7 separate regions of the Homo sapiens genome follow, and all the other regions are linked to region 2. The links are contacts of gene promoters, found by promoter capture Hi-C in blood cells and fetal thymus (Javierre and others, 2016). All regions are on one chromosome and are shown on one strand. Each heading gives the region's core, a stretch centred on a gene start or on the middle of the fragment in contact. The rest is flanking DNA. Distances are from core to core; before and after follow the strand shown.

Region 1 (4,015 bases), core at 74-2,573, 300 kb after region 2:
CAATTATGACAGAAGACGAAGGGGAGCCAGCGTGTCACATGGCGAGAGGAGGAGTAAGAGAGAGAAGGGAGAGGTCCCAGACTCTTAAACAACCAGATCTCCTGTGCACTGAATGAGAACTCACTCATCACCATGGGGATGGTGCTAGGCCATTCCTGAGGGACCCATCCTCACAATCCAGTCACCTCCCAGCAGGCCCCACCTCCAACGTTGGGAGTCACATCTCAGTGTGAGATTTGGAGGGGACAGAGATCCAAATCATATCATTTACTGAGTTAAATGAAGGTGGCATAATGGTTTTTCTCTACCAGCGGTGTGATTGAAGAGGGCAGGCAGGCGTCGAGCCTGAAGGAGTGCATTCGTGGTGGGATGTGGAAGGAGAAGCAGATATTACAGACATTTAGGAGATAGTCATGACTTGTGACCAGTGAGAACACACTGGATGAATGTTTCCCTAAGGTAGATGAACTACAGTGTCTTAGAAAAATATTTGTCTTGTAACATAATTGAGAGCACTAAACATTTTGTATTCTCTGTCTCTTAATTGGACACACATTAAGAGTAACAAATATGGGTTTAAAAGGCAAACTTTTTTTTTTTTTAAGTGGGTATTTTTTTCCTTTTCCTCAACTTGGGTATTTCCTCTCTGAAGAGGGTTTTCAGTGTCTTGGAAGGTAATTTGCACACTATTTGTGAGGCAAGACTGCTGAGTTAATGGGGAATATGCTTTACTACTTCTTTTTTGGATCCAATCTAAATACGGAGAAAACTGGCCTCAGAATTGCCCACAGAATGGGGGTTTCCTTTATGATTCCTGCTTTTGAGTTCTTTGAATTAGCTTCACATTTCTTGTGTGGTTGGATAGACCCTCCTCCCCCTACCACTTTTTTTTTTTTCTATTTGAAGAGAAAAGATTATTTCCCCCCTAAGTATTCAAGTCTTTTTGTGCCTGAATTAAGGTCGAAGCATTCCATAATTTAAATATAATACCTTTTTGGATGCTTTATATATTGCATTGTGGAGCCAGTTTTAAACACCTGTTTTGTTATCTTTCTAGCTATAGGAGTGTCCACATCTTCACTTTATTTAAAAAGCTCCCGGGTATGTATTAGCAGATTATTATTTCTGTTCCAAATTGATAAGAAGAGGAGGGAGGTGTAGCATCAAGGGAGAAGTCTTTGGGAGTAAAAAAAAGAGTGGAAACTTAAATCAAAATATAAGTCCTTTTCTTGCTCTGTCTTCTAGTGAAAATGTTATTCTGTGTTAGAGAAATGACCAGATGAATTGTGTTTCCTGTTTCGTTTTGCAGTTCTCATTAAAGTGGGTATACGCATACACTTATCTCATGTAAATGTCAAACTGTTTGTTCTTGAAGTGCTGAGTCTTCAACAGTTCTCCTTGGTTGGATTTTGAACATCATTTCAGAATGTCTTATGCTAGATCCAGCAATGTCAGTTTTTGCCTGCTGCACTGTGGTACCTTGTGAATAAAGCAAGTATAAATGGTCCAGATTTATAATGGTTTAAGATTTTTCAACTTTACGATTGTTTCATTGGGACGTAACTCGGTCACAGGTTAAAGAGCATCTGTACTTAGGCAATGCTAGAACTGAGCTTGTGTTCTGTTGAGGAAGAGTAATCTTTGCAGATAGTATAAATTGTCTTTGAGTGTAAACTTGAAATAGGTTTCTTTCTTTTTTTTTTTTTTTTTTTGAGATGGAGTTTCACTCTTGTTGCCCAGGCTGGAGTGCAATGGTGTGATCTCGGCTCACTGCAACCTCCGCCACCCGGGTTTAAGCGATTCTCCTGCCTCAGCCTCCTGAGTAGCTGGGATTACAGGCATGCGCCACCACGCCCCGTTAGTTTTGTACTTTTAGCAGAGAGGAGGTTTCTCCATGTTGGTCAGGCTGATCTTGAGCTCCCATCCTCAGGTGATTTGCCCGCCTCGGCCTCCCAGAGTGCTGGGATTACAGGCGTGAGCCACCGTGCCTGGCGGAAATAGTTTTTTAAAAACATTAATAAAATATATAAAAAAAAGCATGGCACTATCATCCCATGAGTTAGAAATCAAGATCTAGGATTAAATTGGTTAATTTATTCTTAGTTAATAGTCACGACAGTTCTTATTCTGTGAGTCAAGCGCTCACCTGTTGAGTGACATAGTTCTTGAATCATATGCCCAAGGAAAAGGACATGTCTAACATCTCAGAATTTTAAAACTGTGTGTATTAACAGTGGCTTATATCCTTTTGCACATCAGAATTACCTGGGAACTTAAAAAAAAAGTTTAAAAGTTGATATGTAGGCTAGTTGTAGGGAAGTGTCACATTGTCTGAGCCCAGGGGAATTGTCAGATTGTAGGGGAATTGTCAGATTGTAAGGGTTGGGGACTGGGCATGAGTGGTTTTGAAAAGCTCCCGGGCCATTTGAATATGTAGTGAGGTTGAGAAGCTCTGGTTAACGTAACCCTCAGGACAGCTCAAGAAATTCTTGCACTGTGCTTTCCCACGTACATTTCAGTGTACAGGCTGTGTACCTGTGGCTGTTTATCAGGTTCATCTTCTTTAGCAAGTTTGGCAGTTTTGTAAAGTGTCTAAAGATCTTTTATCTTGTATTCTTATACATATTAAGTAAAATCTATGTGGTAGTTGGCTTTACTGAACCTATTAAAATTGCTTTTTAGCTTTGGTTATAAGCTTCTAAGTAATAAACAAGAACCATCAGACAGAAATATGAGTTACTGCTTTCGGCAGAGTACAGATTTACTTTATACTTACTTAGATGTAAACACAATAGTTCACGTATGTTTAACGAAATTCAAAGTTCACCTATGTTTAATGAAATTCAAAGTTGATTGGAACAGGTATGATTATGCAGAGTGGACAGACTTTAAAAAGTGAGATGAGAAGGCCAGGCGTGGTGCCTCACGCCTGTAATCAGCACCGTGGGAGGCCAAGGCAGGGGAATCATTTGAGGTCAGGAGTTTGAGACCAGCCAGGCCAACATAGCAAAACCCTGTCTCTACTGAAAATACAAAAATTAGCCAGGTGTGGTGGTGCATGCCTGTAATCCCAGCTACTCGGGAGGCTTGTGGCAGGAGAATTGCCTAAACCCAGGAGATGGAGGTTGCAGTGAGCTGAGATTGCAACATTGTACTCGAGCCTGGCGACAGAGTGAGACCCTGTCTCCAAACAAAAAAAAAAAAAAAGTGAGGTGAGAAAATAACCATCTTACAACTTGCCACTTTTCAGAAGCTGATAAGCTGCTGTGAGCCCTGTTTTCGCATGCCTTTATGAAATGATTGGACTGGGACTTTTGCTTCCCTCTTTGTTCCCTTCCTAATCTAGCTCGAATGGTGTAGGTCCCTAGGAATCATTTTGTTGCTTGACTTGGGTGGGTGGTCCCTATAGTATATGAATTCAGTATATGACATCTATGTCAGACCCTAAAGATTATCAACAGGTAGTCTCGGTTCTCAAAATGTAGCATAAACCAGAATCACCTGGAGGGCCTGTTAAAACACAGTTGCTGGTTCTACCCCCAGGGTTTCTGATTCAGGTCTGGGGTGGGTGGGGCCAGAAAATTTGTATTTCTGAGATGTTCAGGGTGTTACTGATGTTCTTGGTTCAGGAGTTCTGAGACTCATGGAGGTGGAGATCGTCGGGGTTGGTGACATTTGTAAGAGAAGGGTATTTACAGAAGTTGTACCCTTAAATTAAAAAGAAGGCTCTCAGAATTAAGTCTGGTCACCCAATGGACAAAAGGGAAAAAAATTCCATCTAGATGCAGAAAAATAAGAAAAATTGACTTAAAAGATTATTATTTATAAGCTCAAAGATAGAATTTTTTTCTTTTTGAAAAATTTTTCCTCCCTTTTCTACAGTTTTAATGAATTGAGGTTTGAACCCGGGACTCTAATTTTCAAAGGATTTGTTTGTAGTCTTTCAGTTTCCATCTCCTAATTCAGTTGCTAATTTTATTAAGTTCCTAATTTTATTAGGAACTTGTTTTTCTTC
Region 2 (4,181 bases), core at 170-2,669:
AAGCTTCTCTTTCCACCACATATGGGAGGGTCCTTTGGGAGTTTTTACCAAATTGTTCAGGAAGAGTTAAACATGATGTTTTTAAGGTGATGAATTTAAAAAAAAACCACAATAAGTGCACCTTTGTCCCACGATGGAAGGACCCCAAAGGTGGAACATCCCAATTTAACAAGAGTAACTTTCTGAACATCTTCGTTATGCTAAACTCTGGGCTAGGCATTTATGGTTTTAGCTCATTTAATCCTCTCAACCAAATCCATTAAAGATAAACACTAACTTTTATTCCCATTTCGCATACGAATAAATAGACCTAGAGAAGTTAAGTAACTTGCCCTTACTCAAGGACACAAACCTGGTAGAGAGTGGAACCAGAATCGGATCACAGCTCCATCTGACTCAAAATCGATGTCCTAAACCACTTCATTTGCATTCATAAAATTATTTTTCATCCTTTTATTTCAGTAAAAAGGAATAATGTATTAATGTTAAATAGGAAAATTATTCAGATGGCTTCAGAAACTGACCTGTGTTTTTAAGATATTTTTTTGAACAGACATCCACATATATCCAATCAGTCAAAATCAAATAACACCATTTTCTCAAATGCATGAAAAAGTAAGAGATGACTTGTAACTGCCTAAATGTACCTAAGTTCAATATCTCAAATTAGAATTATGATTCAAGAATGAATGGGGATCAGCATTTTATTCAACTGATGAATTGCTCCTCAAAGTTTATTTTATTTTATAACTGCATACATTTCCATCATCACACTTTAATTGAAAATTAAATTAATAGTAAAATAAGGTGAAACTGGTTTAGTGAAAACAATGCAAAACTCCATAATAAAGTTCATGCCCATTTGGGAATGAATCCATATCAAAAATCTTTATCAAAAATAATTGTAGTGGAATTAAACTTTGAAAGGAGGTGAAGGTCTTGCTTTGGGTTGAAATCATTTAAATTAAATATAATGAAAAGTGACCAGGGTGCTTATTTTTACTTTGTTTTGTGGGAAATTGTGCTGGGAATGTGGATCTATTGTACACAAAGGATGTTGGCTTTATGCTGGAACCACTAGGCAGGTTGAGTTGAGAAACAATTAGCTCAGTCAGCAAGCCTTTGAATCTGATTAAGCCAGGAAGTGGTCACTCCCCAGGACAGGGCAGAATGAAGGGAATCAAGGCAGCAATCCAAAGCAAGGGATAATTTTTTTCTCTCTTTCTCTTAAATAAATTGTTATTAGAATTTATTGTGTCAAATTTATGCCAAGGACTATTTGAGTACATTTCATCTTTGGTAAAACAAATAGAATCTTGTTTCCAAGTAGATCAACAGTTCGTATGTGTCGTGGCTACTGTCTCTAAGAAACTTCTATTTACTGAGGCCTGTCATACGCTCATGTTTTGGTAACAAAACATCTTTGAGACCAAGGCCTCAAGCCACCAAGGAAAATGAAGGGCCTCTACCAGGCTGCTGGCCGGATTCTTGTTACTCTGGGGATCCTCAGTGTATGCTCTGGAGTTATTGCTTTCTTTCCTGTCTTTTCTTACAAGCCTTGGTTCACAGGATGGAGTGTTCGAATTGCTTGTCCTATCTGGAATGGAGCTTTGGTATGAAAATAGTTTATTAAATATATTGAGAAAATAAAAGAAGGTGGGAGGGAAAGGGAAAACAGAAGAACATATCCTTTTAAATTGTTCTAACAATACAAAGAAGTCAAAATTCCACAAAAAATCAGAATCCGCCTTGGAACATTGATTTCTATTAATTGCATTTTAAGTATAAAAATGATCTTAATATTGTTTTATCATGTATACATGTATATTATGTATTTTTAATGACATGCTGCTCAAGAAATTCTTAAAAAGTTATTTTATTTTAATCCACTTAACTTGATATGCTAAGAAATTAGAATCTTTTGAAATGTGAATTTTGAATTTAGAAAAAAACATAAACCTTGAAAAGTAATTTTAAAATACAGAACAAAGTAAAATAATTTTCAAACTAATGCTTTCATTGCAAACACTAAGATGTACATGGCCCCAAAATTTACAAACCCCAAATATTTGTTTTTCCACCTTTCTCTTGCAAGCAACTGTTTGAACTGAAAATAACTCAATAATTTTCAATTATTTGAAAATAATTCAAATAATTCAATAATTCAAGATGGACTTCACAATTCACTAGGAAAGTACATGTGCCAAGTACAGCGTACGACACTAAGTAGTACTCCGTGTGCGCTCATTGAATCATTGCACAGATAAACGATTGGCCTGGTCCCTTAGCTCTCCAACCAAAAAAAAATGGGCACATCTAGTCTTGGGAGTAACTGGCTTCCATGCTGGTATGATTTAAGAGAAGTTACAGAGACCCACCTGTCCAACAAATCCTTCTCTCATTGATTCCTGTGACGCCTGACACTACTGGAGACTGGAGAATTCAATATTGAAGCTTTTTGATCTTAAGGAATCTTCTATTAAAATGTAGCCACTTGGCCGGGCATGGTGGCTCACGCTTGTAATCCCAGCACTTTGGGAAGCCAAGGGGAGCGGATCACGAGGTCAGGAGTTCGAGACCAGCCTGACCAACATGGCGAAACCCCGTCACTACTAAAAATACAAAAATTAGCTAGGCGTGGTGGCATGCACCTGTAATCCCAGCTACTCAGGAGACTGAGGCAGGAGAATCACATGAACCTGGGAGGCAGAGTTTGCAGTGAGCCGAGATCATACCACTGCACTCCAGCCTGGGTGACAGAGCAAGACTCCATCTCAAAACAAACAAACAAAATGTAGCCACTGTTGTGTGAGATAGTATCTTAAATCTTTAAAAAGTTAAAACTTTAACTGAGATACCACCTAAAAACTAGACCTCAGGAAATATAAATTTTAATCTACTTATTAGATAAATATTTATGAATAGCCCCCTATGTCGTTGAGTTACAATGAAGGATCCAACAAGGTCTTCATCTTAAAGGAACTTGGTCTAGTGGGGTTTGATGAATGTGTGCAGATAGACGGAAGCCAGTGGGATTATGGGAGAGTCGATGGAATGAGGAAACCACAGGGTTATCTTTCTCTTTCTCAGTTTTTTTTTCTTTTTCAATACATTCTTTTGCATCTATCACCCCAATCTTGATCTTCCCTTCTTTTCTCCAACACCTACCTGAAACCACAATTCATTCAAAGAAATATTTGTTTAAGTTCTACTGGAATGCAGAGATGGCAGTTACACTTATTCAAGTGGCTTCCAAACTTTTTTTTGGTGACTCAGAGTCAGAAAAATATTTTAGGTGAGGACCCAGAATGTACATAAATACATCTACATTCTTCTCTCTAGATAAATAGATATCTACATCTATTATGTATATACATGTATAGTAGATGTTTATATATCTATAAAACAAAAGTTGCTCAAAATAGTACTTACCCTCTATGTGAAACATATTCTGATATTTTCTATTTCATTTAATTTTTTTAAAAATTCTGATTTCACAAAGTTTAACAATATCATGATTAGAGTTCAACCCTACATTCTTTTGTTACAGCTGTTTGCCTATCCTTTCAGACTGCAACATAATACATTAAACAAATATTGGTGATTTTGATTAAGATTACAGATGATTGAATGTATTGTTCTAGGCCAAACATCTATTTTTACCAGTTAGGCCCGGAGAAATGATATGATGTGTCTCCAGCACATAGTTAATTGGTAACTGTTTGATTTCAGAGGTGGCAGCATCAGGAAATGGAGTCAGAGATAAAGGATTTAGAGAAGTGGACCTGTTTTCAAGTCCTGACTTTGATGTTCTTGGTAGGAGGTCAAAAGCAGGACCCTCAGCCAGCCAGTTCCTCATTCCCTTTATCTGTAAAATGGGGAATTTTACAGATAAAAAGAGCCCACGTGTAAAACTGTCCAACCCTAAGATGCACAGTGAGAAGGAACACAATTTAAACAAAGATTGTATAATAAAGAGCTTTGCCAATTTTAAAGCCCTCTTCAAATGCTAGTTAATACTATGCCTTTCATTTGTGCCCTACTCTCTGTTCAAGCCCTTTGTTCTTAATCCTGTGTCACCCACCTCACTTTCCTATCCTACTCCCTCGTAACCTGCTGAGTTCTCCATCCTGTTACTTCCTGGACTTCATCTCCTACCACTCTTCCCTTAGGTCACTTCT
Region 3 (4,192 bases), core at 1,504-4,003, 330 kb after region 2:
AGAGAGCAGTTGTGCCTAGCCATCATTCCATTCCTCCTCCTTCGCCTCTCATAAAAAGAAAATATTGTGTACCTGCAAACATATGCTCTGCTATCAGCATTCAGACACCCAAACACCGAAATCATTTAGCAGCTCTTACTGCTGTCAGTAAGCAGATGATGGCGTAAGGGGTTTAGAATTTGATATGTGTTTTCTAAAGCATCTCTCAAAATAGGCATTGTCTATTTCTTGTTTGTTGCTTGTGGGAAATTTTTCGTCAAGTGTACCTGTACCTAACCCATGACTAAAACTTACCTAGATCTTAATTTCTAGATTTAAAAAGAAGAAAAAAGGGATCAAGTAAGGAACAGCGAAGTAAAGAATATCTAAGATTAAAAGTAGGAATAGCTACAATTACCTAGATTTCAATTTCTGGGTTATTTTTAGTGTGACAAAGTAAAGAGTGTCCAAAATTACAAATCTGAGGGATAATTCAAAGATCCTTTTTTGTTGTCATTGTTCCTGGGGGAATATGTTTCCTGGGGGAAGGAGCATATCTGACTGGTCCCAGGGAAGAAATGAAGTAGAACTGGTATTGAAGAGATATCTTTCTATGGGAATCCAGCAAAAATACTGGGTTCCAAGAACTTGCTTGCCTGGGGAACTCCCAGATTCTTTAAAAACCTTACATGTGAAATAGCTTAACATAAATATATAGGTTTAGACATACTGATTGATGTTTCAGTGCCTATTTTTATATGCATTTATATCGCTCAGGTCATCTATTTTCCACTTGTTCTATTAAGTCATGGTTTTGCAAATGGTCACCATTTAAATATAAGGGACCTATTTTGCTTCTTTCATATTCTTCGACATTTCCTCAATGAAAGAATAAGGAAAGTTTAGGAGTGAGTTACTTAGGGTGTATTCTACTCTGAGGATTTCAGTTTTACTATAGCTGTATTTAATCTTATATTAATTGGGCACTTATATTAATTTAGTGCCTGTATAATGTTGGCACTGAAATGGTTCTTTAGTGTGTTGTGAGAAAATTTCAATGAAGTCATTTATAGAAAACTGTTTTTCTCAAGGGAATTTCCCTTTCCCCTTTTCAGAAGTCAGAGGAAAAAAAAACTGGAATTAGAGTATAGAGTTAGAGATAAAGCGAAACGATGGCAGAATATGCTGAGACATTTGCTCAGGGGTTAAAAGACAGGGAGTTTATAGAACTCCCTTTTCTGCTTGTCATAAGGTTATCTGTTCCTTCTTTTGGACATCTCTCTAGAGGTGTTCCCAAGCTTTGTATCACAGATTCTTTTATCGTGGGGGTCCTAAACTTTAACCATTTAAAAATAAAAACCAAGGGTTACCAAACACCTTAATAGAGACTTCTCTATGAAGTTACAAGAAGTAAACAACCATATGGAAGAATTTGATGTGTTCTTTGAAGTCACTGCTTGTAAGAGAAGACAACGTGTAATTTTTGAGTTACTGTATGACTCACGTTGGAAATGTTTAAAGCCTTCTGTAGGCATGGTGTGGTGGCTCACACCTGTAATACCAGCACTTTGGGAGGCCGAGGCGGGAGGATCACTTGCACTTAGGAGTTTGAGACCAGCCTGGGCAACATAATGAGACTTTGTCTCTACAAAAAAAAAAAAAAATTAAAAAAATTAAAAATAAAAAAAATTAGCCAGGCATAGTGGTGCATACCTGTAGTCCCAGCTACTCAGGAGGCTGAGGTGGGAGGATCTCTTGAGCCTGGGATGTCAAGGCTGTTTGAGTTGTGATTGTGGCACTGTGTTCCTGCTTGGGCAACAGAGCAAGACCCTGTCTGGGGGAGGGGTGGGGCGCGGGGTGGGAAGCCTCCCGATGTCCTAGGAATAGAAGGCTTTTGCTGTTGCAGGAGTACTGAAATGGAATAGTAGGAGCTGCCAGTGAAACTCATTCAGTGTTGATGTAGCATGTTTTAAGAATGTGTTATTTACGGGGAAAACTCTCGAGTTCGTCAGCGAACTGAGAATCCATTCATGGGTGCAGAAAAAGATGCCCATTGCGGGAAATGTGTCTGTACTCTGTGGCACCTCCTTAGGTGGGAGGAATGTGGTGGGGGCTGTGAAGACTGTGCCACTTTCACACCTCTGCATGCAGAATGACTCTCATTCTCTTTTACCAAAGAGCGAATTCATTATTGAACCTGTTAGGATCCAAGGCATTCAAGCATATTTGGGGAAGACTACTCTTGTTCTCTAGAGAGACAGGTCTAAATGATTAAGTTTCCAAATACTGAGCTTATTCCAGAAATAATTTGGTTTCTGCATGCTTTGTTTTCTACAGCATGGTGAGACTGCCACTTAGTTAGACTGAGTCTTGTGAATTGAAGCCTGTTTACAAGAAGTCTGACATACACACTATTATTTTTAGCCTGAACAACATGAAAACCATCTATTTAAAACTCCCAAATCTGAATGACAGTCTCATCTTGCTTAAAATTCCTTCTAGTACTTTTTAAGCCAACAGAAAGGAACATATAAACAATTTGTTAATTGCAACAGCTGGTCCCTGAGTATCTTTATGTTAATGTTTGGAATCTTTGAATTTGAAAGACTTTTAGAAAGAGCATCTGGATTAATGTAGTGCTATTCAGACTTCAGTCTTGAGAAGTGGAATCGACCTCATCAAGACAAACAAACAGGGGCCTTATACAGATTGGGAGGGCGACAGCAAAGGCATGGTGAAATTTCTTTAAAAATCTTAGTAGAGAATGAAGACAAATGGTCTCGGTTTGGTTGTGGGTGAATAGCCTCTTATTTAATTTAGTATGATGTTTATCTAGCTGCTGTGGTAAATGAGGTGAAATCTTTTGTGTATACAGTTAATTCCCAATTATTCATACATGCTTTAGCCAAATTGCTGATTCTCTGTGGACTTTGGAGACCTTCCCCCCGCCACCCCCCCCCCCCCAATACAATTTGCTGTCCATCCGGTCCCATGTCCTAGTTTCCTCTCTGGCCATGCTTTCTCACAGGGGTTCCCAGTTGCTCTCCTCATTTCCATCTTTGCTCCCTGACCAGGCCCCTGCTGCTTTTGCTTTCTCGCTGCTTTTGCTTTCTCTGCTGCATTCCCTGGATTTGTCTGACAGTCCAGGGTTCTTGTCTCCTTGCCGTTGTCTCTCTCAGTCATCTCAGAGTGGTAATAGAGAAGCTAGTTGATGGCCAGGGAAAAGCTACAGAGAGCTAATGTCTGCTGCTCCTTGCTTCTCTTCCTGTCACCTTTGGGCCTTTGTTGAATGAACAAGTGGAGAGTAAGTAGAGAAAGGGGTTTCCTGAAACATTTCCAGCCTGTTCTTTTAAGTGCTTTTTTTCCTCAGGATTTTATAGTCCTATACGTGGTAGGTAGGCGGATGGGCGGGTGGTGGGGGAGGTATTACAGCAAAATGCTTACATATTCTTTTCACCTCTTGTTTTCTTTTTTGTTCTCAACTGGGACCTACTATTCTCCTCCCCATTGCTGAAAGGCAAATTCTTAGAAAGGGGCCATTTAGAGTATGTGTAGCTGAAGAACCTCAAATAGTTCTTCATTTAGCAAATATTTAATTTCTTGAGTTCTTTTTATGTTTTGAATATTCTTAGAGATACGAAAATGAATTTGATGTAGATTCTGCCCTTAAAGGGGTTTAAGTAAAATCTAGAAGCAGAATTTACACAGACAACCACACAGAAAACCCTAAATCTAAAGCCGATATGTAAACACATGATTACCATAGTAAGTGAGAACCTTGTACCGCGTTGGAGAAGTGTGAAGGGTCTCCCCAGAAGACATTGTTTTTCCTGGGGAGGGGATCACAGTAGTACAGATGTGAAAAATCTGCCCTAATATTTTTTGTTTGCACTATGTGGATGGAAATGAAAACTTACCTGTAACAAACAGTTTTATCTATAGAATGTTTTATAAGCCTATTTTTGTTCCTTTTCTATTATATGTCTACACAGAATATAAATTTACCCCATCAGGTGAAAGCTCAGCATAGGTGTGCAAGCCCCACTTGGCTAAAATATTGGTTAGAGCAATAAAATCCTGTGTTCCATTCCCAAACCAGTTCCAAGCCAGGTAATGGGTTGAAAAGGCCTTTGATTAGTTGGATTTCCTATAAACCAACTCTGAAGTACGCATGCATTGATTGAATTAATAGAAGAGCCCTTCATTCCCTTGC
Region 4 (4,032 bases), core at 815-3,314, 380 kb after region 2:
TATTTGCATGGTATACGTTTTGGTGATTAAAAAGCAATACTTTATTGAGATGGTAGCACCTCTGTTCACACTCTGTACTGTGAAACATTTTATTTTTACCTAATGAGGAAGGATTGTTCCCTAAGTCAATGTTGTACCAAGTGTATACTTGTTGATTTTATGTTGCATGGGTGTGGAATATTAAAAAGCTTTACTACTTGTAATAGTAACAAAAAAAAATTTAAAAAGCAACCAAAACTATCTATAAAATTATAAAAAGCATTGTAAAGAATAATGATAACTAGTAACATTTTGATGAGTGATTATTGTGCCATGCACTGCTCTAAGCGCTTTTGCGTGTAATGAATTTCATCTTTAAACCTGACCATATGAAGTAAGAATTGTTATTCTCACTTATGACTATTAGGAAGTAAGGTTCAGAAAGGCTAAGTGAATTGTTCAAGGTCACGCAACCAGTGTGAATAGTGAGCTGGGGAATAAAACCAGGCAGATCACACTCTTAACATCTGCTCCATTGAGCTGTGTACATCAGCCCTTGAATTTCACAGATACTGCTCAGGATGGGGCAGACATCATTGTTTATGATTTATTTTTAATGAGTCAATTCAAATACAAATATTAAGTAAATACACAACTCTCTCGTTGGCTGTGTCAAAAATGCTGAGGCTGACAAGAAAAATGGATTTGGAAACCAAAGCCTTCAGCGATTGGTGGATGTATTCGTTTAAATTATACTTAAGAATTAAATGGGGTCATGCAATGATCGATTTTTATGCCATTCTCTTCTTTTGCTTTAAATTATTGCCAATGTGTTAGCATGTGAGAGACTGCTGTGTTTACTTTTTACAGTTACAGAGATGACCAGATAGTTGAGTGATTTGGTATATTATCCATGAATTTGGATTGAACGGTTGGCATTTGGAATGTTAGATAAATAGTATACAAATTTTCTTCCCTGCTCCTGTTTTTTTTCCTATTTCACAGACTTGTTCATATGCTCACCAGTGTCCCTGTCCCTTTCCCCCTGCTGAGTCCTCTCCTGTGAAGTGGTCATAACGCTGGTTGTACTGTGAAGTGAAGGATGCATTGTGTGCACGTTTAAATGCAGCACTGGATGGCAGGATCTGCCTTTTACCAAATAAAGTGTTGTATTTCTCTTGGTTTTTGTTCCAGCTGAGCAATTTTCATTGCCGACAGCACAACATACATTAGGATAAAGCAAATAAACAATGCAAGGCACTTGGAGCCAGGAAGTCGCATCTCAGACTAGAAACACATAGTTTTCTATTGACATTTGGGAGGTGGGCTGCTAAATAGGCGAGCCAGCCACCAAATAGAAAACCAGTGGCCATGAGGTTCTTGCACTTCTAGGGAAGCCATTTATTTAATCGTTAGATCTTTGAAAGGTGTCTGAAGTTGATTTTGATGTAACAACAGCCAGTTTCTTTGTAATTAAATATTAACTCAAAACTATGTCTTGGGTAACTGTTAACCTTTGCCATTTGTTGTTTGCCTTAGACATGTAATTAACATTCATTGAATTTAATTTGTTGTTGTTCACGTCTTTTATTAACTCATACACAATTACTTGTCTTCTGTTTTTAAAAACTTTTTTGGGAAGACAGGGTCTTGCTCTGTGCGCAGGCTGGAGTATGGTGGCTTGATCTTGACTCACTGCAGCCTCGACCTCCTGGGCTCAAGCCATCCTCCCACCTGAGCCTTCCAAGTAGCTAGGACCACAGGCGCGCACCACCATGCCTAGCTAATTTTTTATTTTTTGTAGAGATGGGATCTCGCTATGTTGCCCAGGCTGGTCTCAAACTCCTGGGCTCAAGTGAGCCACAGTGCTGAGCCTTGTCTTCTGGTTTGTTGAAGCAGTAAGTCAGACAATATTTGCCACAATAATGTCTGTCAATTGTTTGTGGCTGGCCATAAAAACTCCAGCATCACATTCATCTGAAGGACACTGCTAATGAAGGCCACTCATTTTGCTGTTGTCATCCACCTTATTGTATCTCAGGACATCCAGCTTAATCTTTTTCTATTATGTTTATTCTTCTTGGGAGTGGTATGACTACTTCTATGAAGTCCCAACACAAGATGAAGAGCGGACTCCTTTTGAATGTGTAGTTAGAGTATGTTCATCCTTCAGTTGCTTGCCAGCAAAGATCAGTCTCTGTTGATCAGGAGAAATTCCTTCTTTATTCTGGATCTTGGCCTTTGGATTTTCTGTTGTGTCCAAGGGTTCAACCTTGAGAGTGGTGCTCTTCCTGTAAGGACTTTTATGAAAATCTGCCTGTTGCTTGTGGTTCCATCCCAGATGGTGGATCAGAAAACTGAATTTCCTATTTTGAAACAAATTTCTTGTTAATTTAATACTTTACTTTGAAATAATCCATGTAAATTTGGCATACATATTTTTAATAGTTCCTTATTTTAAAATATGATCTAGACCTGGCACGGTGGCTCACAGCTGTAATCCCAGCACTTTGGGAGGCCAAGGCAGGCGGGTCTTGAGGTCAGGAGTTCAAGACCAGCCTGGCCAACACAGTGAAACCCGTCTCTACTAAAAATACAAAAATTAGCTGGGCGTGGTGGCGGGCACCTGTAATTCCAGCTACTCGGGGGGCTGAGGCAGGATAATCGCTTGAACCTGGGAGGCAGAGGTTGCAGTGAGCCGAGATCGCGCCATTATACTCCAGCCTTGGTGACAAGTGCGAAACTCTGTCTCAAAAAAAAAAAAAAAAAATGTATTCTTTCCCCCTGCCTTATTCAGTTGGTTTGGAATAATTTAAGGATTTCTTCTATTTCAAATTATGGCATATTACAGTAATTTATTAAAAATAATCTAACTGAAAATCATAAATGCAAAGTCTATAGGAGCTTTCTAAACCAGAATAAAAAATAATTTTATAATTGATTTGTTTAAATATTGATTAATTATGCATTCTTTTAAAGGCCAAATAAAAAGAAAGAAACTTTTTGCCCCACTCTGTTACACTACTACTAACTGAGCAATCTTGGTTTATGGAACTTGAGGTTTTGGGAATCATTAAATATTTATAAAGATACTTATAGTTTTGGGTTTTTTGTTTGTTTTCTTTGAGTTGTATAGCTGGAGAATTCCTTTTCATTCATGGTTTCAGGTTTAGCTTTAAGGCAATATATACCAACTTTTGAAGAGCAAATTGTCAAAGTCATTAATTATCTTCAGTTTGGATAGTACATTGAAAACATTAATTATTTTGAATAATGTATGTTTCTTCAGCTATTAACATCTGACTCGTCTGTTTTAGGACCTGCTGAAGTTCCCATGATGTCACCCAATGGATCCATTCCTCCCATTCATGTGCCTCCAGGTTATATCTCACAGGTAATCCATTTGATGGACTTCTCTACTCACTATGGACACTGTCGTTGCTCCAACAGAATATATGTTGAGGCTTCAAAGCCATATTCCAGGAGTTAATTTGGGTACCGTAGTGCTAGGTTTGCCATCATTTTGTGGCACCACATGGCGTTTCTTGTGTCTTGCCACTTGACGTACCAGAGAACCAGAGAAAAGGAGACACAGAAGGCCTACTAGACTGTCCTCTGCCAAGTGGGGTTTTTATATTTGATTGTTTGGTTGTGATTTCTTTATGGAGTCTCCTGCTTCAGACATTTCCTTCCACCTGTAATACAACTTTCTGGAAGAAAATTCATAGATGTAGTTAGTTAACATATTAAAGGAGACATAGCTCACATAAACAGGGCCTACCTTCTGTTACAGAAGGAAAAAAATGGAGTTCAATTGCTCCACAATGTGGCAAAAGCTAGGCTTGGTGAGTTATTGAGTATGATGTGAGAACTTGGCTGTTTGCACTTAAATTTCTCTGAGCTTTGGTTTTCTAAGTAAAATGATGGTAATAGCAATCTCAGAGATCTGTGGGAAGGGTAGAAAAGCTTTAAAGGATGAAGTTATGTTCCTGTACGTGAATAAAGCATAAAATGTTCTGCATGGCTGGAACATTGTGGACATCTGTATATACT
Region 5 (4,125 bases), core at 706-3,205, 270 kb after region 2:
TTTATTTGATGTCAGTACATGCCCCCTGCTCTAATCTATCATACAGTATATCCAACCTCTGTCTATCGTAGTATATTCTTTGCATATACTTGGTTGGAGCTGACCTTGCTGCTTAATAATTTATATTATTTTCTCCTGCATTGTACTATCAACCTCTTAAGAACAAAAAATATATAATAGGTGCTCAGTAAATGTTTGTTAGTTGAATGCATTTCATGTCTTCTCACCACTGATGCAGATAACTCCCTTCCTGATTCCTCAGTCTCTTCCTCTGCTGGATTACTTCCACCAACATACAGTAGTATCTTTTATCTTAAAAACGTAAACACCTGCACCTCTCCCCACCCAATAAAACAAAACCTCCTCAGTTGATTCCACATCCCCTTCCAGTTGCTACCTTCTGTCCCTTTTTCCCTCTTTGGCAGTATTTCTCCACTTCCTCTCCTTCCTTACCGCCCACTTTACAGTCTTCACTCTGTGTTCTCATCTTCCTCTTCAGTCTTTAGCATGTTCTGTTGGCTTTATCTCAGGAGTGTGTGCTGAATCCATACTCTGCCGTATCCACTTCACTTCCACTACCACTGCTGGACCCCGTGCCGTCATCTCACTAGGGTAGGACAGGACAACCCTTCTCGCTGGTCTCTCTGCTTTCCCTTTTGCCCCACCAGAAAGCAGTCTCCACATAGATCCTGAGGGGTCTTTTCCAAATAAAAACTTTCTGATGTCATTGGCCTACCTCAGGCCACGTTCTTACACCTGGAGTGAAATCCAGTCATGCTGCCTGGCTGCCAGCCTTCCGTGTTAGTGCTGGCCTCTCTCTCTGTCATTCTCTGCCTGCTCTTCTGCTCACTGTGCTCAAGTAGTTCATGGGAAGGTTGCAGAGTGTTGTGGATGGTTTCAAGATGCAGTGTTTGGTCTCCCAATTAAAAGAATTACTAATACAAAGAAAAAAAAAAGACAAGGTATTTAGTCAAATGTGAGTAAACTTGGAAAATGACTTAGGTCTCTCAGATGTGGTCACCTCATTCCCATTTGCCTGTGTAGCCAAGAGACCTGAGGCCACCCATCCATGTTGTTGTACACCATGTTTATGTTTTGTTGATTTCTCCCACATGTCTGTAATTCAGCTTGCCCAGCAGGCTACGTGGCATTTCCCTACCTTGCATATCTTACCTCAACTCTAAGCAGAAGCTGCTTAACAATTTTGGTTAATAAAACCATATTTTCAAAGCTGGATGAGGTGGTGCATGCCTGTAATCCTAGCTACTCAGGAGGCTGAAGTAGGAGAATCCCTTGAGCCCAGGAGTTTGAGACCAGCCTGGGCAACAAAGTGAGACCCCATCTCTAAAAAGAAAACAAAAACAAAAACCCGCATTTTTATTAAATCTTTTTTTAATCTTATTAAAGCTTTCTCTAAAGCTAATAAGAAGAATCTGTTAATGTATCTGTTTTATAAATAGTCAAAATACTCAAGCTTTATGAAAAAGTGGGGGTACACTTAAAAAATCTCACAAGAAGGAACTGTTTTGTCTTTTTAATTAGTAAATATGTTTGTGTTAGAAGCATTAACATCCTTGGTTCCAAGCTATTACTTGGCATTAACTCTAACTTTTCCTTAATGGGCAAAATTGTTAAGTGGGTAAAGTGTGTTAGAAATGTCCCTCTCAGCAGGACCAGCCCAAGATTTACCATGCTTTGTCATTGCCTCTACATCACTGGGGCTCAGCCTAGGCAGTGGCCTCTGTGCTTGACATTTTTCTTCCTCATTCTGCTCCCAGAGTCTCCATCCTGTGTCTCCTCATTCTTTCAAGCCTCAGTTCTTTCCTTTGGGTTCTAACATTTAGCATTGGCCTAGGTGTGCGTGGTAGAGGCTTGGGGCCTGTGGGTTGAACCCAGGTGAAGGCACAAGGGGAAGACAGAGTGAAGGAGAAGGAAAACCAAAAGTGGCAGAGAAACACAAGAGGATGTAGGGAAAGGGGAGAGATAGAGGGCCATTCAAAAGAAGAAAGAACAAAGGTGAGTCTCCAAGACAGGATCCCAGAGTGTGGGGCTGCATGAGTTTTGAATGCTTGCTTTGGGCACCTGCTGATGTTTGCTGCCTGCCCTTAAGAGCCTGCGTAATGTGGTGCTCAGGTGGTTCCATGTTAAAGGATCAGGCTACAGCAGACATACCAGAGAAAGTGATCTATATGAATGTTTTCTGAGGCTTTTACTGTGCTTTCTCACTGAAGCAACACCTTTTCATCTTAATAAGAACCTTTTGCAGGCACAGGATTGACTCTAGGGGTGGACATTGCAGGCACTGTACAACAGACCCTCGGCGGTGGCATCCTAAGGTATGTGGCACCTCAGCCACCTCTCACATCATACAGTTGTTAAGAGCCATCCCCTGGCCATAGGATTCTGCCTCTGAATATCTGTTAGGAGTGTGTATGGTGAAGCTTACCTTGTATGTATTTACAGCGTTCTTAATACTTTGCAGCTGTGCAAAGGACATTCTAAACATTTCTATATATGCAAAAGAACTACCACAGTTATGAGAAAGCTCTGCAGTTCCCACAGCCCTCCTCCTTCTGATTTCTGTTCTGCTGGTTCTGGATGTAATTAGGACTAGTTCTTGGCAGGATTCTCTGTTGCGTTCTGGCTCTCTAAATAAGACACACTGTTAATTTTCATTATTTGAAGTCAAATTAAGTTTGAAACCTTGGCTTGTCATTTTGCGCAGGTAGGAGGGAAAGGGCAAGAGTGAAAAGGATGATTATTTTCTTAAAAAGAAAAGTCATCCTCATTACGAATGAAGCTTTTAAAAGCATTATCAACTAAAAATAAATAACAAGAAACAATGTGAACAGAAGCAGCTTACACAGTTTTCCTTATTTAACAGCTTTACTGAGGTATAATTCACATGTCATACCATTCACCCACTGAAAGTATACAATCATTGGAATCTGGTATATTCACAGAATTGTACAACCTTAACTACAATTAATTTTAGAACATTTTTATCACTCTAAAAAGAACCCTAGAGGGATCACTCCCTATTTCCTGTTTCTCTCTCCCTTCCCCCCGTCCTAGGTAACCACTAATTCACTTATTTTCTGTCTCTGTAGGTAGATATTGCCTATTCTGGAATTTCATATAAATAAAATTACATAACATTTGGTCTTTTGTGTCTGGCATCTTTCACCCAACATCTTTGTTTTTTTTTTGAGATGGAGTCTCGCTCTGTTGCCCAGGCTGGAGTGCAATGGCACGATCTCTGCTCACTGCAACATCCACCTTCCGGGTTCAAGCAATTCTCCTGCCTCAGCCTTCCGAGTAGCTGGGATTACAGGCATATGCCACCACGCCTGGCTAATTTTTGTATTTTTAGTAGAGATGGCATTTCACCATGTTGGCCAGGATGGTCTTGAACTCCTGACCTCAAGTGATCTGCCCGCCTTGGCCTCCCAGAGTGCTGGGATTACATGTGTGAGCCACCACGCCCGGTTCACTCAACACATTTCTAAGGTTCATTCATATTGCAGCATGTGTCAGTACTGTATTCCTTTTTTATTGCCAAATATTTTACTGCATGGATCTACCACATTTTATTAATCCACTCATGATCTGATAGACATCTGAGTTATTTTCACTTTTTGGCTGTTATGAATAATGCTGCTATGCACAGATTCTTGTGTGGACATGTTTTTTATTTCTCTTGTATATATAACCGTATATATAACCAAAAGTGAAATTGAGTAGCTTTATTTTGAAGTATTATTTTCCAAATAAAGTTATCTCTGCTTTGTATCACCATTAATTTCTCCCACCTCTGAATAACTACAGCCTAGCTTAGCTAAATAAAGTTTGCTTCCCTTAATATGCCTAATTGTATACTATTGTTGAGTTATAAAAATCAGGTTTCAACCTGAGTTTTTAATGTGTGGCTATTATAAATGATGATGAATGCCCTTCAATAATCAGAAAATTGATGCCTTTGTTGACATTTTCAGAAGCTTGTGGTATATTAACTTACCTGTGTTTGTTATGGACTTCTGCATTTTAGCGATTTTAAAATGTAGCAGCCAGTTTTGCGCACAAAAGAATAAACATCAGCCCAAATTCTGACTTTTTATTGATTTA
Region 6 (4,158 bases), core at 1,404-3,903, 460 kb after region 2:
AATTCTTGGAGCACCTGTTTCCTAAGCATTTAGCCAGGATTTAAGCTGAAACAAATGTGAAAACAAGATTAATTATATTGTTAGAAAAATGTTTTCTTTTCTTGGGATAAATGCAACAAAAACTGAACTGTTTGCTGACTTATTTAACCCAAGAAACTGACCGTACTCTACAGATACTCCTTTTACATGATGATATTTATGGAAAACTCATTGCCATTATGTGGAAAAAAAAAAAATTGCAGTATTCTTTTAAAATGTAGCATCATTAGCAGAGATTTTTCTTTTCTATAAAAGTTATTGGTAAAAATGTTGCTAGTCACTATAACAGTAAGTTGCTGTCCATTTACTGAACTACTATAATTGACAGATGTAATCAAGGGATACTTAAGTGTGGTGCCAATTTTTGTACTATATGCAGCATACTTACATTGCCATGCAAAATGGCTGACAAAATATTATGTGTGAAAAGCATTGACCCTTAGCATAACATTGTTTAAGATTAAAGGCAAGAAAAATAGCCAACTCCATCTGGCCCATACAACTGTCTGTTTTCAACAACCTCAAATTTCTAACCTGCATCAGGTTCTTTTACTTTTATCCTCACTGCCATCCTCCCAGCCTGGCCACCAGGAGTCTCCATCACTTACGACTCTCCAGCCTAGGAAGTATGGATTGCTGCCTCCAAGAATCCCACTAAAAATGAACAAAGAATTTACTGAGACCAAATTTACCTTTCCCCAGACAACTGACTGCATCCTGCTAGTACTTTGCAGGCTGTTTCCCTGCCTTCCTCCCTCTGCTCTATTATCCAGATGGATTTTTGGCGGTGGCTGTTTTTGGGAACATATAGGACCTGATCTGCCTGGGTATACTTCTGCATTTGTAGGCAAATGCCCAGTCATTGCAAACTGACATACTTACTGGGTGGAGGCAGAGAACCTAAACAGCTAAACTGGGTTGGGTAAGGGTCAGCTGAAAAGCAGTCTCAGTGCTGTGGAGACAGTAGGAATGATGGGGACTCTAGCGAACTCTGCAGCACCTGCTCCATCTAAAGCGGGGAGCTGCCCACAGATTTAGCTCATTACTACAGGGCAGGAAAGAGGGCCGAGTGAGGCCAGGTGCAGTGGCTCACGCCTGTAATCCCAGCACTTTGGGAGGCCAAGGTGGGTGGATCACCTGAGGTCAGGTGTTCAAGACCAGCCTGGCCAACGTGGTGAAACCCCCATCTCTACAAAAATACAAAAATCAGTCAGGCATGATGGCAAGTGCCTGTAATCCCAGCCACTCAGGGGGCCGAGGCAGGAGACTCACTTGAACCTGGGAGGCAGAGGTTGCAGTAAGCTGAGATCATGCCATTGCACCCCAGCCTAGGCGACAGAGCGAGACTTCATCTGAAAAAAAAAAAAAAAAAGCCAAGTGTTGCTAAAACCTTGAGTTTTTAAGAGAAGCCAGAAGTTTGGTTTTTAAAATGAGAGCGCTCCAGATATTTTTCAGTGAAGGCTTAATTTTTACTTTTTTATTTCAGAAAATGTTAGATATAGTCAGAAGTAGATAGTAGTTTAGATAGTAGTAGTTTAATGAACTCTCATCACTCAACTTCTGTTACCTCATTGTCCTCACTTACCTCTCCCCTGCCCTGATGATTTTGAAGTAAGGTTCAGACATCATATTATTTCACCTATAAACTATATTACCATCATCACACACACCTGAAATGTCTTCACAATCCCGGGACTGTTCCCATTTCCTCAGTTCTAAGAATGAAGATTTTGTTTCTTTAGTTTGTTGTAATTGGAATTCAAATGTGTGAATATGTGGTTTGGTTGATATGTCTTAAATATATTTTAATCCATTCATTTTTCCCTTTATCTTTTTCTCTTTCTTGCAACTTGTTTGTTAGATTAATTTGTTTGTCCTGTAGAGTCTTCCACAAGTATGAGTTTGGCTGACTGCATCCGTGTTGTGTTGCTTAATATTGTTCTCCTGTCCTCTATATTTCCCATAAAGCAATGAAGAGGTTTAATCAGATACAGGTTCAGTTTTTCTGCCAAGACAGTTTTGTAGGTAGTGACATAGTCCTTTATTAGGAATGCATGGTGTCTGGTTGTCTCTTTTTGTGATGGTCATTGCCTGTATCTTTTAATTCATAGGTGGCTCTAATACTTCAAAACATTATGTTTTTGCACACTGCCACCACACATACACATGTGTCTTGGGTCAGATGCAACCCATGAGTCACCTGTTGGAGAATTCTGTGTATCAAAGTTCAGGCTTGAGCCCTGCCCATGTCTGGAACATGTTGTGATTCATTTAAAGTAACTTACTCCCAGTGAGCCCATCCTGACACAGGGAAATGATCTTACCAGATCTACCATTTAGTTTTATATTATCACGTGCCTACTTACAGTGCGTGCAAAAAGGACCTTTTCCTTCATCAGGGGTTGGGTGGAGAGCATCCCAATGATAAGCATTATTTGTTTGGATCAAATTTCATGCTGTCCTCCCATAAGGCAAATAGATCAAATATGTAATATGTATGTATTTTTATCTTTTGAGGTACAAAGTAGACATATCTATTAGTGCCTTTGACGTATGGCCTCTATGAATTTTTCATGATGGACTTTGTGGAGAAATGACTTTGCAAATCACACACACACTTGGGACCTATCTTCCATAATGTTGTTATCTTTACCTGTTGTTTGTGTTCATTGGGTAGGGCTAAGGGAAGTGGATTGTGGTGTTTAGAGGAACATGATTGCAGGATGAACAAGGGGAATAGGCAATACCGTATATACTGGTTAGACTTCCAGGGATAAATACCATTGATCCAAATTTCTAACTGTGTGGCCTTGGGAAATGTACTTCATCTCTGTGTTTCCTTCTGTCTGCAATGGGTAATAAGATTTCCCTACCTCAGAGAGGGTGGCTATAAGAATTAAGGGCTCAATATCTATTTGCCAACTCTGTGAATAGTTTAATCCTTGCATCTGTTTTAGGCAGCAAAGTGTTCTTTGTTGTTGTTGTTTTTTAAGAGTACATTTTCAATTTTGAAAAAATAAATTCCCAGTATAAAAAATGGAATAGTAGGAAGATGATAAAAATCAGCATAGCCCTATTTTATGCTATTTGAAGAGTGTGGCATTAATAGTATGTTCTATGCTTTTTCTTCATGGCTTCTCTGGAGAAATCAAGCACATATGTTGCAGTGTTGAGCCAAACATTTTAGTGTACAGACCGAACATCTTTAATCTTGGCTTCATGTATAAGAGTTAAATATTCACGTGGATTAAACTGTACCTGAACATTGTTTTTGTGGAATTAGAGAAAGTCACACTTGTTAGCTTCTCTGTGAAACATCCCTAGTTTTACATAAATGTGTACAGTATTAAATGTAGTTCAAAGATGGTATCTACCCTGTTTGTACTTTTATGCTTTCTCTCCAGTCTGTGACCTCTTATTACTGTTTCTTTTGCCTTTTTATCCAGCTCTTAACTCTTAGCCTTTTTCCAGATAAAGTCAACCAGAGAGTAGCTCATGGGGTTTTAGAACATATATTTGGAGATCGTTCTGGGGTTAAGGTTTATTTTCTTACTTAGAATAATCTCTTCTAGTCAGTAGATCCTGCCTATCTTGAAATGGAGCTGGGTGGCACACACTGAGACAAATACCTGTTGGGATGACTGTCCCCTGTTAATGCTAACCATAGGTCAGGACAAGACCAACAGATAAGAGCAAGAGCATGATACTCACTCCGTAAGAAATTCTGTTCATCTACAGAAAGCCTTAGGGTGAAACAAAGATAAGAATCCTGGTCTTCTATGATGAGTCACTGCCACTGACTGTGTCTGTTTTGTTTTCAGGGTGTATGCCATGTACAATTCCGTAAAGGGATCCTGCTCCGAGCCTGTTAGCTTCACCACCCACAGCTGTGCACCCGAGTGTCCTTTCCCCCCTAAGCTGGCACATAGGAGCAAAAGTTCACTAACCCTGCAGTGGAAGGTGGGTAGCTCAAAGCATCAAGAATCGTCTCAATTTAAAAATTAGCCAGGTGTGGTGGCAACGTGTTCCTAGTCCCAGCTACCTGGGAGGCTGAGGAGGGGGGATCACTTGAACCCAGGAGTTTCAAGGCTGCAGTGAGCCATGATCACGCCACTGCAC
Region 7 (3,742 bases), core at 913-3,412, 350 kb after region 2:
CTAGGATTTGGGAAGCCTGGGTCTGTCTGGATTCACTTGGCCTGTTTTCTTTCCTCCTCCTTGTGCTTGTACTCCATGTTGGAAGGGACCTGTATTTGATGTCTAGAAATGTGCCCTTGTGAGGAAAGTACATCACAGACTATACTAGTTCCACAAAAGGAAGATCAACAAAGCTTTTCAAAAATAACATCATCTTTTTAATAACTAAAGTGTTCACACTGAAGGGTGAATGGAAGAAAGGAGTAAGTTTTTGGATAAATAAGAATTGTGGGTGAGCAGGCCAAATGTTAAAAATTCTCTTAGTGGTGGTCGGGCGTGGTGGCTCACGTCTGTAATCCCAGCACTTTGGGAGGCTGAGGCGGGCGGATCACAAGGTCAGGAGATTGAGACCATCCTGGCTAACACAGTGAAACCCCGTCTCTACTAAAAATACAAAAAATTAGCTGGGCGAGGTGGCGGGCGCCTGTAGTCCCAGCTACTTGGGAGGCTGAGGCAGGAGAACGGCGTGAACCCGGGGGGCGGAGCCTGCAGTGAGCCGAGATCACGCCACTGCACTCCAGCCTGGGCAACAGAGCAAGACTCCATCTCAAAAAAAAAAGAAAAATTATCTTAGTGGTTATACTGTTGTAGAGTAGTATTGATTGATGCATTTATTCAACCAGCAGCCCTTATGTGGTTCTGCTGTTTCGTACTCTAGTAGATACTTTGAGAGCTACAAAAATGTAAACGTGTGATTCTTGTCGTTGATGGATGACCTTACCTGTCAAGTGAAATGAGACATGTTTTTGTTTTTGGTTATTTGCCATTTAAATGGATTTTAAAATCCTTCGTACTCACTCCAAAGTTATTGTTTTCTGCGTCTGGATTCTACCTTACTGCTTCTATAAAGTTGCATCTTTTCATCAAAATTATATATGGTACTGCTAAATGGGTTGGTGGAAATACTCATTGAAAAGAATATAATTATGACATAGATCATATACATAGCTTCACATTAAGAAAAGGGTATTGAGTATTTGAAACACTTGACATTGTGTTTATAAATATCTACTCATCTAGTCCAGCACTGAAGAGTCATATAAGTACTTAATTTCAGAGGTGAATCACAAGTGGCATTAAAAATGTATTTTTCTTGTTACCTGGGGCCTATACATTTAATGAGTTTAAATTATTCCTTTGGCCTCAACTCTGGTGGGTAACCTAATTCTAATACCATGGTGAATGGTTACTGTGACTACCCTGTTGCTAAGAAACCTGTTATGTTATCAGGTTGCCTTGGCGAAGTAACGGCTTCTTAGGACTCCTTAGCACCGCTGGGAGGTTGTTAATCAGAGCTGTGGAGGACCTTACAGAATTAGTTTCCAAGGTTATAACTAATTTTTCTTTAGGAAGAGAAATAAATCTAAGTCTGTAAAAACTGAAAGAAAACAAAGTCTAAATTATTTTCAGTTAAATCATGACCTTTAGTTATTTTAAAAAAAGTTTGATCTTGAGATAAAAACCTATTTTTACTAGTATTTTTACTAGTTACAAGGATCTATGTCTTGAATGGTGGCACCCCAACCCCCACCCCTCTTAACTTAGCATTCCATTTTTGTTTGCTTAGAGTGATTCTTGGCAGGGTATTTGCAATGTATAGAAGAGTATTTGAACTGAGATCCCGAGGGAGAACACTGTGTGAAATTATTTTAGTCATTTGATATCAATTGCTCTTGCTATGAAATGATTGAACATTTTATTTTAAACAAATGGTACACTATGTAGCATTTTTTAAAATGCACCACACTTGATACTGGGTCAATAATTCTGTTCAAGGCAGGAAGCTGGCTTTCACAAGCTTTGCTCCATGGCAAAAGGTTTCAGATGCTTAAAGCTCCACAACACACGTTAAGAATCTGAGAAGTTGTGCTGCTGTTAATTTTGTGTAACTTAGCTCTCTTCCACATTGTTTTCTCTTTTTATCTCTATGCCTGGAGGTGCTTGTTTTCAGCAAATTACATTTTGAGAAACTCTGTTCTTGACTATTGTTTAGAGGTACAATGCAGAAGGGGTCATTCCCATTTGACACCATTCTCATTTGTAGCAGTACAGGTTAAGTCACAAGCCAGCCTGAGGAATAGGATGAGCTGTTCAATTACACAGGAGTGGGCACAGTTAAGAACCCAGGCTTTGGAATTCCAGTCAGAGTGCCTGGACCCAATTTTGGGTCTTCTGCCTCAAACTTTTTGACCTTAAATCAGTTACATAATGACACTAATCCTCAGTTTCCTCAACAGTAAATGAGAGATAAAACCCTTTAGATTTCAAAGAGTTGTGTGGATTAAATGAGATTATATGAAATGCTTAGCATAATTTCTGGCACTTAATGTGAGCCTTTGTAAATGTACAATGTTAATTATTATAGAGGACACTTTCTGGGGAGCTGTGAGTTGTTTCTTTAAATCTGAAAGGTTTAGGTACTTGGCATTTGATGAAGCCACCCACACTAAAGCTTTTAATTGCTGGGAAGATTTTTCAGATTTTTAAATTTAATTTATTTTTAAATTTAACCTTAAATGTAAAAACATTTTTTTAGACACAGTGTCTTGCTCTGTTGCCCAGGCTGGAATTCAATGGTGTAATCATAGTTCATTGCAGCCTCGAACTTCCAGGTTCAAGGGGTCCTTCCCACCTCAGCCTCCCAAGTACCTGAGACTACAGGTGCCTACCACCATGCCCAGCTAATTTTTTTTTTTGTAGGGATGGGGGTCTTGCTCTGTTGCCTAGGCTGGTCTCAAACTCTTGGCCTGAAGGATCCTCCTGCCCTGACCTACCAAAGTACTGGGATTAGAGTCTCCCAGCCTTTAATATTTTATAATTTATTTCCATATGTCTTTTTCCTTGAGTTTAGAGTTGGACATTCTAAGTTTTAGCCCTAACTCTTGGTCTTTCTGGGACATCAGTTTTCTCATCTGTAAAATGGAGGTGGGAATTGGCTGACATTTCAGGTCACATTCTGTGATCTGACCCCTGGGAGAGCTTGGTGAAAGGTTCCCTTCTGATTGTATCCTGAATAGAAGAGGGAGGGTCTAGAGGTTAAGGACAGCCCTCAAAGTCTTGTAATGTTAGGATGAGCCACACAGATGATGGCACCTCACGTTTCGCTTTTTCTTGTCCAAAGAAGACAGCCGGAGCTCTCAGAGTAAGTGAGTTAATTAATGGGCAGTCTGTATTTGGGTTAAATATATGCTTTCGGTTATTACTTTTCTCTTTTTTAAAGAACAATTCTTGGCTGGGCATGGTGGCTCACGCCTGTAATCCCACCACTTTGGGAGGCTGAGGCGGACGGATCATGAGGTCAGGAGTTTGAGACCAGCCTGACCAACATAGTGAAACCCTGTCTTTACTAAAAATACAAAAATTAGCCAGGTGTGGTGGCATGTGCCTGTGGTCCCAGCTACTCGGGAGGCTGAGGCAGGAGAATCACTTGAACCTGGGAGGTGGAGGTTGCAGTGAGCCGAGATGGCACCACTGGATTCTAGCCTGGGTGACAGAGTGAGACTCTGTCTCAAAATAAAATAAAATAAAATAAAGTAAAATAAAATAATAATTATTTAAAATGTTTGAAACAGCCTCAAAACTGCAGAATTGTTACAAATACGGTGCAAAATACTTGACAGCACTTGTTAGCTAACCCCAACTTAGTTTAGAGAAATAATTTGAATAGCACAGAGAACATGTTTTTTCTGAACCGTTAGAGAGT

The links. Contacts are between HindIII fragments. The CHiCAGO score rates a contact against its expected background, and 5 or more counts as called.
Region 1: a contact is called between a fragment that was not itself captured here and the fragment with the promoter of TMEM212 in region 2, in 1 of 17 cell types (M0 macrophages). The highest score is 5.6, in M0 macrophages.
Region 3: a fragment that was not itself captured here is called in contact with the fragment with the promoter of TMEM212 in region 2 in 1 of 17 cell types (neutrophils); the score reaches 5.7 in neutrophils.
Region 4: a fragment that was not itself captured here is called in contact with the fragment with the promoter of TMEM212 in region 2 in 1 of 17 cell types (neutrophils); the score reaches 5.5 in neutrophils.
Region 5: a contact is called between a fragment that was not itself captured here and the fragment with the promoter of TMEM212 in region 2, in 1 of 17 cell types (M0 macrophages). The highest score is 5.8, in M0 macrophages.
Region 6: a contact is called between a fragment that was not itself captured here and the fragment with the promoter of TMEM212 in region 2, in 1 of 17 cell types (neutrophils). The highest score is 5.3, in neutrophils.
Region 7: a contact is called between a fragment that was not itself captured here and the fragment with the promoter of TMEM212 in region 2, in 1 of 17 cell types (M1 macrophages). The highest score is 6.3, in M1 macrophages.

Annotation. Positions count from the first base shown.
Region 1 is chr3:172,144,119-172,148,133 of GRCh38, forward strand. The region is part of intron 3 of FNDC3B (fibronectin type III domain containing 3B); the gene reads left to right. Among named protein-coding and RNA genes, the nearest start is that of FNDC3B, 110 kb to the left of the region's middle. The HindIII fragment of the contact is 2,739 bases long and covers 1-2,693 here.
Region 2 is chr3:171,841,930-171,846,110 of GRCh38, forward strand. TMEM212 (transmembrane protein 212) reads left to right here and starts at 1,420. Exons shown (of 5, transcript NM_001164436.2): 1 at 1,420-1,613. The coding sequence starts at 1,455. The HindIII fragment of the contact is 2,451 bases long and covers 2-2,452 here.
Region 3 is chr3:172,172,004-172,176,195 of GRCh38, forward strand. All of the region lies in intron 3 of FNDC3B (fibronectin type III domain containing 3B), which reads left to right. LOC124906304 (a long non-coding RNA gene) reads left to right here. Exons shown (of 2, transcript XR_007096169.1): 2 at 1-4,192. Among named protein-coding and RNA genes, the nearest start is that of FNDC3B, 130 kb to the left of the region's middle. The HindIII fragment of the contact is 2,957 bases long and covers 1,276-4,192 here.
Region 4 is chr3:172,223,575-172,227,606 of GRCh38, forward strand. It overlaps FNDC3B (fibronectin type III domain containing 3B), which reads left to right. Exons shown (of 26, transcript NM_022763.4): 4 at 3,297-3,373. It also overlaps the pseudogene RPS27AP8. Among named protein-coding and RNA genes, the nearest start is that of FNDC3B, 190 kb to the left of the region's middle. RefSeq lists a silencer at 245-539. The HindIII fragment of the contact is 3,757 bases long and covers 187-3,943 here.
Region 5 is chr3:172,113,375-172,117,499 of GRCh38, forward strand. All of the region lies in intron 2 of FNDC3B (fibronectin type III domain containing 3B), which reads left to right. Among named protein-coding and RNA genes, the nearest start is that of FNDC3B, 76 kb to the left of the region's middle. The HindIII fragment of the contact is 967 bases long and covers 1,473-2,439 here.
Region 6 is chr3:172,303,503-172,307,660 of GRCh38, forward strand. It overlaps FNDC3B (fibronectin type III domain containing 3B), which reads left to right. Exons shown (of 26, transcript NM_022763.4): 10 at 3,861-3,999. Among named protein-coding and RNA genes, the nearest start is that of GHSR, 140 kb to the right of the region's middle. RefSeq lists an enhancer at 2,077-2,371. The HindIII fragment of the contact is 9,457 bases long and covers 1-4,158 here.
Region 7 is chr3:172,193,632-172,197,373 of GRCh38, forward strand. The region is part of intron 3 of FNDC3B (fibronectin type III domain containing 3B); the gene reads left to right. Among named protein-coding and RNA genes, the nearest start is that of FNDC3B, 160 kb to the left of the region's middle. RefSeq lists a silencer at 464-654. The HindIII fragment of the contact is 654 bases long and covers 1,836-2,489 here.